3 separate regions of the Homo sapiens genome follow, and all the other regions are linked to region 3. The links are contacts of gene promoters, found by promoter capture Hi-C in blood cells and fetal thymus (Javierre and others, 2016). All regions are on one chromosome and are shown on one strand. The core of a region is centred on a gene start or on the middle of the fragment in contact, and the rest is flanking DNA. Distances in the headings are between cores, read along the strand shown.

Region 1 (3,808 bases), core at 255-2,754, 270 kb after region 3:
ATACAGGAGCGTTTGGGTTGTAACCCTTTCCGTACTGGAGAAGCCACCCCCGCTGTTTGGGGAGTTCTTGGTTTCAAGGGGACTCTGATTGGGGGTGGGGGGCGCCCCCTCGTCGTCCTCTCCTTCTTCTCAATGCGTCTCTATAAAGCTGATCCCTTCAAGGGAGCTGAAATCTGCTTATTCGCTCCCAGGCAAGACGTGTCCCCTACACGTCTTCCCTCTCTCCCCTACGCAAATCCAAAGGCCTTTACGACGCTGAATCCCTGGGGAGGAAGGGGGACCTTCCAAGGTGTAGAATGTCAAGGAACTCTAGAGCCCTACAGAGTAGGGGATGGGACACCCGCTCTCCGCCCCATCATGTGAACATCTGAATCAGGCTACACACCTACATCTTAGGTGCCCAAAACTTTCTTTCGGACATGAAGAACGTTTACAGCTGTTACGGATTTTCTTTGTGGGGTGTATTTTAGGGTTCTCCAGGTATATCTTTGGGGACAATTTACCCCCACCCTTAGAAAGCTGGAAGAATTGCATTTGGAGAAAACATGGATTAGTTTCAACCAGGAATTTTTCAGGGAGATGAACATTAAAAAAAACTTTTTGTTCTACCTATTTGGGGGACAGAAGTTGCTCCTTTTTGTGTTGCTGGCTCACCTTTATCCACTGAGTTTCTGTTTTCTTTTAAAGTTCCTGTCCCCTGGACTTCAGCCTGGTGTGGGTTTGTGATGTTTGGGGGCGTGCATATGACTAGTGACAATGGCTGGTTGGACATGTCAGCTGTGAGTGACACAGGAAATAGATTAGTGGGCTGGAAAGGAGTGATGAATAAGAGGGCCATCTCACAGCCCTGGACTGAGGAGTTCTTTTGATCGTTATTATTGTTATCTGTCCTCACCCCACCCTCATATTTTCCAATTAACTCTCCCCAGCTAACTTGGAACACCCCTTCCTCTCAACCCCATCCTGTAGTGTGTCTCCAGCTACCAATACAAACAGATGGAAGGATGGAGGCTGAGGGGAGCAGAGAGAAAATGAGGAGAGAAATACTAAAGTGAAACCAGTAGGTTTCTAGTCCTGCTGCAGGCACAGTCTGGAGAGAAGAATGTTAGGTTCTTTTTGAACTATCTCCCCTTTCCTCAACGTTAAATATACATTTCCACTTCTTGGGGCCCCTTACTTCCCACTTTCTAGTCTGTTCCCTGCCCTGGGGTGGGGCTTTCCTGGCTCCAGGCCCCCACATTCCATCTCCCCACCCCCACCACGTTCCTGCTAAGCGCCTCACTCCACCCTTGAAGTTGCCGCCTCCAGAATTCTTGACTTCCTGGAATAATAAGTCAAGGGACAGAACCTGTCTTTCCTTATATCCTCCCCTTCCCTTTGTCTCTTGGATGCCAGCAGAAGCTTTCTGCTTCCCTAGAATTCATGGGGGTAGGCAGCTCAGAGAGATGAAAAGAGCTGAGAGCTCAGGAGCCTAAGGATTTGGGCTCAGTTCCCCTCGACCCCCAGCCATATTCTAGCTCTGAAAACTCAACCATTCCTTTCAGAGATTAGTTGCTGCTTTCTGATGTCATAACTCATTCCTGGATACAGCTGGGTCAACAAGCTTAGGAGTAGGTAAGGACACCTCTCTCAATGAGAGGGCCCCACACCTCAGTTGGATTTTGTATTCAAGAGCCAGGATGTGTGGGAGATGGGATGGAGAAATGGAGGCTGTCGACCAAGTCGCAGTATCCCAGGCTCTGTCCCCGTCAGTGTCCTTTTGGGAGCAAAATTAGAGAAGTCTGAACCCTCAGAAGGGTCTATGAGCCAGAGCGGGTACAGTGTGAGACAGGATGGGGACGGACTTGGAAGGCCAGACCTACGTCCTAGAGACTAAGAGTGATACCTCAAAAATGTCCCGTAACCCTCAGGGACTAGAAACCAGGTATGCCTTATCTCCAGGTGTAGTGGCAGGGGCTGTGAGTGTGTGGTGCTGGAGCTGTGGGGGGAAGGAGGTGGACTGGAAAGACTTTAGGCTATCAACCCTTTCTTTCATAGGAGGACAGATATCTCAAGGCCAGGATGGAAGAATCACCACTAAGCCGGGCACCATCCCGTGGTGGAGTCAACTTTCTCAATGTAGCCCGGACCTACATCCCCAACACCAAGGTGGAATGTCACTACACCCTTCCCCCAGGCACCATGCCCAGTGCCAGTGACTGGATTGGCATCTTCAAGGTATCTCTGGAACCCCTTTTGGCTTAGGTTTATGGGCTGTGAGTTGGTTGGAATAAGGGGAATGATTGGGCTCTTGGATTCTCAACCTCAGGTTGATAGAGAAGAAGAGAGAAAGATGTCACAGATGACAGAGGCCGCCTGTATAACCAAAGCACATATTTTCTCCATCTTAGCCTTGTTCTTTACTGACACATTAGTGTCCCTCCACTTTCCCTTTCTCTTGTCATTGTTGCCACTGTAGCTCCATCCTGCCCCCCTTATTCAACCCCTCAGCCCTTTCTTCCATCCATAGAAGGTAGTTCCATGACCATACCTTTCTCCAACCTTGGGCTTTCACAGGTGGAGGCTGCCTGTGTTCGGGATTACCACACATTTGTGTGGTCTTCCGTGCCTGAAAGTACAACTGATGGTTCCCCCATTCACACCAGTGTCCAGTTCCAAGGTACAAGGGAAGATGGAAAATTGGGAGAGAGGAGCCAAGGGAGTGGAGGTTTGAAAGAAGGTAGTGGGCTCAGAAACATTAAAAGTTAGGCACAAAGGACAAGGAAAAATAAACGAAAATAAATATAATGAGAATATATCCAACAGCGCTCAGCGGATAGAGAATCACGGGATTATCGCAGAATCAGGGACATAGAAACAGAAGGAACTTCAGAGGGCATCTAGTCCCCTGTCCTACCCAAAGAAGGAAAAATGGGGGAGTAAGGAAGAGGGAAAGGTAGAATTATGTGGTGAGAAGAGGGAAAGACCTGGGTTCAAATCTCACCTCTAACACTTACAAGCTGTTTGGCCTTGGGCAAATTACATAACCTCCCTGTGTCGGTTATCTTAACAGTAAAAGGGGATGCCTGGCTTATAGGGACATTACGAGGATTTAAAATGAAAGCTGCAGGCCAGGCGTGGTGGTGCATGCCTGTAGTCCCAGCTACTCACAAGGCTGAGGCAGGAGAATCTCTTGAACCCGGGAGGCAGAGGTTGCAACAAGCCAAGATCGCGCCACTGCACTCCAGCCTGGGCGATGGAGCAAGACTCTGTCTCAAGATAAAATAAAATAAAAAGTGTTACCACAGTGTCTGGTACATGGTACGCACTCACTACATGGTAACTAGCATTATTATGATTATGATAGAGGGGCAGTGGGTTTGGGAAAGAAAGGAAGGAGAGGGACAGGCAGAAAGGAGGGAGAAGAGTATGGCCTGTGGGAGGTGGAGAAGAGAAGAAACAGTATATGGAACACCGAGCAAGGGGCTGGGGCCAAGGACAGTGGATTATTGGGGTCCTGGGTCCATTCTTCTTCCCACAGCCAGCTACCTGCCCAAACCAGGAGCTCAGCTCTACCAGTTCCGATATGTGAACCGCCAGGGCCAGGTGTGTGGGCAGAGCCCCCCTTTCCAGTTCCGAGAGCCAAGGCCCATGGATGAACTGGTGACCCTGGAGGAGGCTGATGGGGGCTCTGACATCCTGCTGGTTGTCCCCAAGGCAACTGTGTTACAGGTGAGAAAAGAGCAACAGAGTTATTCCCAGACAAGGGAGTGGGAGACAGCATTGCAAGAGGACCCTTCCCACCTTACCCTCCCCTCATCTGTGGCGC
Region 2 (3,541 bases), core at 803-3,302, 290 kb before region 3:
TGAGCCACTGTGCGCAGCCTAGATATTTTTTATTAGTCTATTTTGCTTCTTCTTGAAACAGAATATAATTCACTAAGTTTCAGATTCCTTACCCATATCAGTTAAAGTCCAGTCAAACCTCCCTGACAGGACACAATCTCCTTGCTTGGAGTTGTATAGTCTCCAGTATTCCCAGTCACTGAATTACACAGCTTACCTTTTCAGAAGATTTTACATTTACTTTTTATTCAATTTTACTAGCTCCATTCCAACATTAAAACCTTACATCCAAGTTCTGATCTGGACACCGCAGGCTGAGGTGGGAGGACTGCTTGAGCCCAGGAGCTTGAGACGAGCCTGGACAATATAGGGAGACCCTGTTTCTACAAAAAAAAAATTAGTGGGTGGGTACAGTGGCATATGCCTGTGGTCCCAGCTATGTTGGAAGCTGAGGTGAGAGAATTGCTTGAGCCTGGGAGTTCGAGGCTACAGTGAGCCAAGATCATGCTACTGTACTCCAGCCTGGGCGACAGAGCGAGACTGTCTCAAACAAAAATGGACACCACAGATACTGAGACCTAAAAGCAGCACAGTGATTAGGGAGATATGGAGTGTGGTCTCTAGCCTAAGTTTAGGGAACAAAAACAACTTGAAGCACTTCCTTTTTTTTTTGAGATGGAGTCTCTGTCGCCCAGGCTTGAGTGCAGTGGGCTGATCTCAGCCCACCTTAGCCTCCTGAGTAGCTAGGACTAAAGGCGCATGCCACCATGCCTGGCTAATATTTGTTAGTAGGGATGGGTTTCACCATGTTGGTCAGGCTGGTCTCCAACTCCTGGGCTCAAGCAATCTGCACACCTCGGCCTTCCAAAGTGCTAGGATTACAGGCATGAGGCATCCAATGTTTCCACATTGTTTTTTTTTGTTTTGTTTTGTTTTTTTTTGAGACAGCGTCTCTCGCTCTGTCGCCCAGGCTGGAGTGCAGCAGTAGGGTCTTGGCTCACTGCAACCTCCGCTTCCCAGGTTCAAGCAATTCTCCTGCCTCAGCCTCCCAAGTAGCTGGGATTACAGGCACCTGCCACCATGCCCAGCTAATTTTGGCATTTTTAGTAGAGACGGGCTTTTCACCATGTTGGCCAGGCTGGTTTCAAACTCCTGACCTCAAGTGACCCTCCCGCCTAGGCCTCCCAGAGTGCTGGGATTACAGGTGTTGAGCTACTGTACCTGGCAATGTTTCCACATTTCTTTCTTTTTTTTTTTTGAGACGGAGTCTTGCTCTGTCGCCCAGGCTAGAGTGTAGTGGCACGATCTCGGCTCACTGCAACCTTTGCCTCCTGGGTTCAAGTAATTCTCCTGACTCAGCCTCCAGAGTAGCTGCGATTATAGGCGTGCGCCACCATGTCCCGCTAATGTTTGTATTTTTTTTGGGCAGGGGGGACAGAGTCTCGCTCTGTCACCCAGGCTGGAGAGCAGTAGCGCGATCTCGGCTGACTGCAACCTCCGACTCCCCGGTTCAAGCAATTCTTCTGCCCCACCCTCCTGAGTAGCTGGGACTACAGGCGCCCGCTGCCACGCCCGGCTATTTTTTTGTACTTTTTTAGCAGAGACGGGGTTTCACCGTGTTGCCCAGGCTGGCAACCCGCCCACCTTGGCCTCCCAGGTAGGATTACAGGCATGAGCCACCGCGCCTGGCCAATTTTTGTATTTTTAGTAGAGATGGGGTTTCACTATGTTGGCCAGGCTGGTCTGGCACTCCTGACATCGTGATCCACCCGCCTCGCCCTCCCAAAGTGTTGGGATTACAAGCATGAGCCATCGCGCCCGGCCATCTTGTTTCCACATTTCAAGCTGCAAAGGCAGGGGCTTGGGCTAGCTGTTCAGAAATTTAATTAGTTTACCTAAGAGACGTCAGATCCCCCTGCTCTCATGAAAATCACTAGTGAGGTCTTATACACACACATACTTGTTCAGCGTGCTGACCTAAACAAGGTGGAACATAGTTTGAAAATAGAGCAATCTGAGTTATATGATCCAGTGGTTGCAGGAACTTGGGACAGGATTTTATCTTCAGCCTATTTCCTCATTTAGAAAATAATGGAATTTACTTTTCACAGTATTATAATAAAGTATATAGCAAAGTACATGGACTGAAACAATGTTTCTCTTCAATAGGAATGCTTTTAGGAAACTATCCTTAGGAGTTTTCCTTTCCCTTCAAGGAAATTTGATTGTCTACAATAAAAACCTCTAGCAAATGCCAAGTCACAAACTGAGACCCCTGACATTACTTCCCCCAAGTATCAAAAGGCTAATGGAACTTAGTCCCATATACAGTTGTTTCAAAACAGCATGGGTGTTAAAAGGCAAAAATTTCCCAAGAATCCTACCTCCACTTTTGTTAGGCTCAAAACTGAGGCTGGATAAACTTTCCTTGAAAATAACAGAAACAGTTTAGTGGCCAGGCACGGTGGCTCACACCTCTAATCCCAGCACTTTGGAAGGCCAAGGTGGGCGTTTATTACCTAAGGCCAGGAGTTCAAGACCAGCCTGGGCAATACGGTGAAACGCTGTGTCTCTACTAAAAATACAATTAGCCAGGCACCTCTAGTCCCACCTACACGGGAGGTTGAGGCAGAATTGCTTGAACCTGGGAGGCAGAGGTTGCAGTGAGCAGAGTGTCACTGCACTCCAGTCTGGGTGACAGAGGGACACTTCGTCACACACACACACACACGCAAGAACCTAAGCATTTGCTAGAGGGTACAATTATTGCTTCCAAAATAGTCCTTACATTTTTAGGCTATCTTTGAGAGGCTAAGTCTTGCCTCTCATTCAGTTCACTTTCTTACTCCTGGCTTGAGAATTCTACTGAAGTATGAGACAGCTGGCCAATAAGCCCAACTTGTTTGCCAAAGATGAAATCCATTATGTCCTTCTGCAACAGATGGTGAGCGTAAGTCCCAATAGAGACATACTGAGCTCAATGGCAGTGCTACAACTTGATTTTCCCTTGCCAGGGGAGCTAGAAAAAGGACATGCTCAATTGGATCAATAGTAAAGTTTACTTATAGTGAGCCAAGAATTACTCCTGTAGTGAGAACCCATTTCTATTTTCATTAAACCATGAAGCTGAATGGGATGAATCTAAATATAGAAATTCACATTAGAATCAACCATATCCTCTCTAACCTGAATTTCAACATGTTATTAACCATAGATATCACAAAGGAGGACAAAACAAGCAGAACTAAGTTAAATACAGTTTATTAAAAAAAAAAACCCATTCACAAAATGGAATTTGAGCTGCAGAACAGCTCATGTAAACTGCATGGCAGTGATAACGAAGTACAGTGGCTCAGATAAAGGTCTTCACAAGGACGTTCCTGCAAAAGGCAAAAGAGGTTGTAAAGTATTCATATAAGCAGAGGTGAATGACTACACAGTTATATCCACTGTCACTACTGGGAATACCTGGTTGGCTAATAACTCTTTTTGCAATTGGATGAGATTACGAAGTGTTTTGGTTTAAGGTACAGCTTGTCATTCTTTTACTTTGGGAACGCAG
Region 3 (3,746 bases), core at 1,012-3,511:
TCAATAAAATTTTTATGAGGATCATTTGATTGTTCATAAATGTATCTTTCATTAAATAAAATTGTAGGCTGTTTTTGGAACGGGAAAAAAGCAACGGAGGAACAGGAGAAAGCAATTTCTTTGGGGTCGGATGCAGGAATTCCAGAGGGGGCAGTGTGATTGCAGAGGAATATCAGACAACTTGGATTCCTCCCCCCAATAAGTTGGTTGCTACCCTCCTCCTTCAATTGAGGGTTTGTGCCCAGCCCTCTGCTTTGCATCAGACTGTCCCATGGTGGTGTAGTAAAGGGGGGCTTTAGTCAAGTAGGAAATTATCAGGGTGGGTGAAGAAGAGGGGGCATGGAGGTTGGCTGGGGGGTGGGGAGAAAGGGACAGGTGAAACCCCCAGAAATATGGTGCACTTAGGCAGGGTAGAGTGAATTTAAAGGAGGGGTGCAATTTCAGGGTCAGAAAGGAAGAGTCCCAGTCTGTGGCCAGGGAAAATAGACAGGAGCTGAGGTTGAGATGCAGGCTCTGGAGGCAGCAGGGTAGGAGTCTTCCCAGACCCGGCCACGCCTGCCCTTCTTTCCCTCTCCTGTCCCCAGGAGGGGACCAAACGCCAGGGGTAGGGGCGGGGGCTAGTTTTCTCCTGCGTCTCTATGGATCTTTCTCCTCTGGGGTGGAGAGGGGCTGGGGAGAGTGTGTATAGTATGTGTGTTCCGGGGGGAGGAAAGTTAGGGGGAGACAGCTGCAGCTGGCAGCACCGACCCCAGCTCCATAGGCCCCCTCCCAAGTCTCTGCTCCTCCCCCTCTCTGGCTCTTTCCTTTTCCTTTTTGGTCTAAGGGGGCGGCTTAACGGGGCTGGGATTTCAACTCATGGGGGAGGATGAGGGATGTGTTTGGTTGGGGAGAGGCGACTTGGGGGTTCAGCTCCTTGGCGCCACTGTCTTCCCCTCCCTTGAGCTGGACTGAGCTGGGAAGCCCAACTTACAACAAGAAACAGAATATCTCTTTGGCCTTGATGGAGTTGGGTTAGCTGTCAATCAAAAAATCTCCCTCACTAGTTCAAGGAAAAGACAGGAGGTTCCAGTCCCCCTGCCGAGGCTTTCTCCAAATCCCCAGTACAGCCAGCACCTCCCCCAGCCCAGGGCGGCTGAGGACCGGGCCCGGCACTTGGGCGGCTGCTGGCAGCGATGAGCAGAGACGTTTAGCCCTCAGCGGGGCCCGGGGCCAGACTGAGACCAAGAGGACATCAGGGGACAGAGCCTGAGAGAGACTGAACCCGAGACAGCCTGGGACAGACCAACTGAAACATGGAGTCAGGCCCAAGAGAGGAAAGAAGGAAGCGGAGCATTAGAATAAAGGGAAAAAAGGGGGAGAATTAAAAGAAGGAAGGCAAGATGAAAAGAGATAGGAGAGCCGGGAAAGGCAGGCGTGCAGAGAGGGAGGCGGAGGAAGGGCGGCCGTAGGCAGGCAGGACGGGGCAGGGGCGAGCTGGCGGAGCAGCCGTGGCATTGTGCAGCCCGCTGGCTTGCCGGGCCTTTGCCGCGGGACCGGCTCCGGGCGCGGCGGCCACTTCTGTCTGGACACAAAGGCGGAAGAGGGCTCCTCTCCTGCCCCTCCCAGGAGACTTGCTCGGATGGGTACTCTAGGCCTCAGGGATATAGAACCCCATATTGGTCCAGACAGCCGCTTAGGCAGCTGGGGGCTGAGCCCTGCTCTATTCAAGGAGCGAAGAAACAGAAGAGGAAAGAGGTTTCACCCCTGCTCTTCCTTTGCGTCTTCTCCAAGCGACAAGGCCAGCTGCCCCAGCCTCAGCTTTCCTGGAGGAAAGAGTCCCTAAGGAGCCTCCCCTATGGGCCTCTGCTATTTGGGAGAGTTCCTCAAATAGACATTGGGGCCGTAAAGAGATGCCCCCTTCTCTCCTACCCCCTTTGAACACCGCCTTCTTTTCAACTCTTGAGCTGCCTGCGCACCCTGCCTGCCCACTCTGCGGAGGCGGCAGCAGCGGGCAGTGAGGCTCACCGGCGGGATCCCTGCTGCCGTGAAATCCCCTGTGAAACCAAGGAGATTGTCGCTTTCCTTTATTTTATTTTATTTTCTGGGACTATGACCTCCGAACTCTTCCCACTCAGAGGCAGGCACGGCTGTGGATCAGGAAGCAGGCCTCGCCCACAGCCCCTTCCCAGCCAATGCCTCATTTTCCCTGCGCCCTTCGGAGAGAGGCGGCCTTGGGGAGGGGGGCTAGAAGAGGCTGGGAGTTCCGGAGTCCACTGGGCGGAGGTTCCGCAGGTCCACAACTGCATGTGGCCTGTAGCCCCCATTCTCCACATTTGGAGGGGTGTGGGTGGCAGACCAGGGCTTTGAAGCGGACCTGCAGATTTCCCTCAAATCCAGGTTTGTAGGTGCGGGGGGCGGGGCACAAAGGATATAGGGGCACCAAGAAGGAAGGTCTGTCTTCCTGGGGTTCAGTTACTCCTTCTGAATCTTCTGCCATACTCCAGACTTCCCCTCACCCACATACTCCCTTCAATTTTCCTCAGCACCGCTGGGGCAAACCCAGGGACTGGAGGCCACTGGGAGTTCTTGTTGGGGAGGGGGAAACCCCAGCTTTAGCTCGCAGCTGTGCATTCACTCTGGTTCTTAGAGTTCCCTCCCACCCCCAAAAGACTTCACTGGGCACAGGAGAGACCCCTGAGGGGGAGGGGCACCCTTACTCCATCACCTGAAACCTGGGCAGCTGCGGCCACAACCAAACTAGCACCGTGGGAAGGACAGACAGAAAGATAGACAGGTTAGAGTCGTCCCCTCCCCCTGCCCCGCGCCTTCCTTTTAGTGATTTAAATTCCCTCCGGTTCAATCCACACCGTCAAGTTCGGATTAAATTTAAAACAGGCTTTCTCCGGTGTCCCCAGCGGGCCATCCCGGCTGCCGCAGGCAGGGAGCCCGCTCCCGGCTCGTCAGCACCCGCCCTGCGCGGAGAAGGCCGTACTCCATTTGCTTTCATTTTCCTTCTCCCCCTGAAATGGGCTCATTTCACCTCTCCACTGCCCTCTTCCCCTCCCCGCCCCCTCCCTGGTTCCCCTCTACTTTCCCCCCTTCTCTCTCCTGATCCCTCTTTGTTGGGAAAAACACACCCACACACAACTCCTCCTAGCTAAGGCCTGCGCTGGAAGCAGAAACTGAGTTCTCTTGGCCTGCCGCGAGGAAACCCGCGTCCTGCCCCCACCCAAGGTGGGTATCTGGGATCCCTACACACCAGGAGTCAGGTCCCGAGGCCCAGCAGGAGTGAAATCCCCAGGGCCTGTGAACGTGGCTCTCTCAAAGCCACGGCCTGCCGGGCCTGCATTCCCGCCGGCGCCCCCGCCCTGACGCTCCGCAGCAAGCGGGGCTATTTCCGGCTCCCCCAACGCGGTCTGGTTTTCCAGCCTGGGAGTGGCTGGAGGGGGAGCCGCCCCAGAGCTAGAGCCGCTCCCTGCCCTGCCCGGAGCCCCAGTGGCCCTGAGCGCCTTGTTACCTGATCTTTTGTGTGATGTATGTGTCGCAAGGAAATTTGCAGTGACTTTGGAGCCCAGACTGAGGAAGCGGAGGTGGCGAAAGGAGAGACAATACGAGCCCGAAGTACAATTAAGGGGCCAGAGCCGCTCGTCTCTCCCCCGCCCTCCCTGCCCGACTGCGAGCTGTCTGGCCTCAAACCTCAGGGCGACACGCGAACCTGGAGCCGGAAACTCAGCCCGTGGCAGAGGGAGTCAGAGGACTCTGCATCC

What was found. The method cuts DNA at HindIII sites, captures the fragments that hold promoters and counts their contacts. A CHiCAGO score of 5 or more calls a contact.
Region 1: a contact is called between a fragment that was not itself captured here and the fragment with the promoter of HOXC-AS2 in region 3, in 1 of 17 cell types (total B cells). The highest score is 5.1, in total B cells.
Region 2: a contact is called between a fragment that was not itself captured here and the fragment with the promoter of HOXC-AS2 in region 3, in 2 of 17 cell types (total B cells and naive B cells). The highest score is 7.1, in total B cells.

What each region holds. Positions count from the first base shown.
Region 1 is chr12:53,723,496-53,727,303 of GRCh38, reverse strand. CALCOCO1 (calcium binding and coiled-coil domain 1) reads left to right here. Exons shown (of 15, transcript NM_020898.3): 2 at 2,038-2,217; 3 at 2,557-2,659; 4 at 3,521-3,711. The coding sequence starts at 2,062. It overlaps LOC105369774 (a long non-coding RNA gene), which reads right to left and starts at 725. Exons shown (of 3, transcript XR_944973.3): 1 at 655-725. RefSeq lists an enhancer at 1,077-2,276. The HindIII fragment of the contact is 202 bases long and covers 1,404-1,605 here.
Region 2 is chr12:54,286,771-54,290,311 of GRCh38, reverse strand. HNRNPA1 (heterogeneous nuclear ribonucleoprotein A1) reads right to left here. Exons shown (of 11, transcript NM_031157.4): 11 at 3,225-3,541. Among named protein-coding and RNA genes, the nearest start is that of HNRNPA1, 7.8 kb to the right of the region's middle. The HindIII fragment of the contact is 6,133 bases long and covers 1-3,541 here.
Region 3 is chr12:53,995,300-53,999,045 of GRCh38, reverse strand. It overlaps HOXC-AS2 (HOXC cluster antisense RNA 2), which reads left to right and starts at 2,261. Exons shown (of 3, transcript NR_047505.1): 1 at 2,261-2,376; 2 at 3,137-3,213; 3 at 3,528-3,746. It overlaps HOXC-AS1 (HOXC cluster antisense RNA 1), which reads left to right. Exons shown (of 2, transcript NR_047504.1): 2 at 1-24. RefSeq lists an enhancer at 3,261-3,746. The HindIII fragment of the contact is 15,520 bases long and covers 1-3,746 here.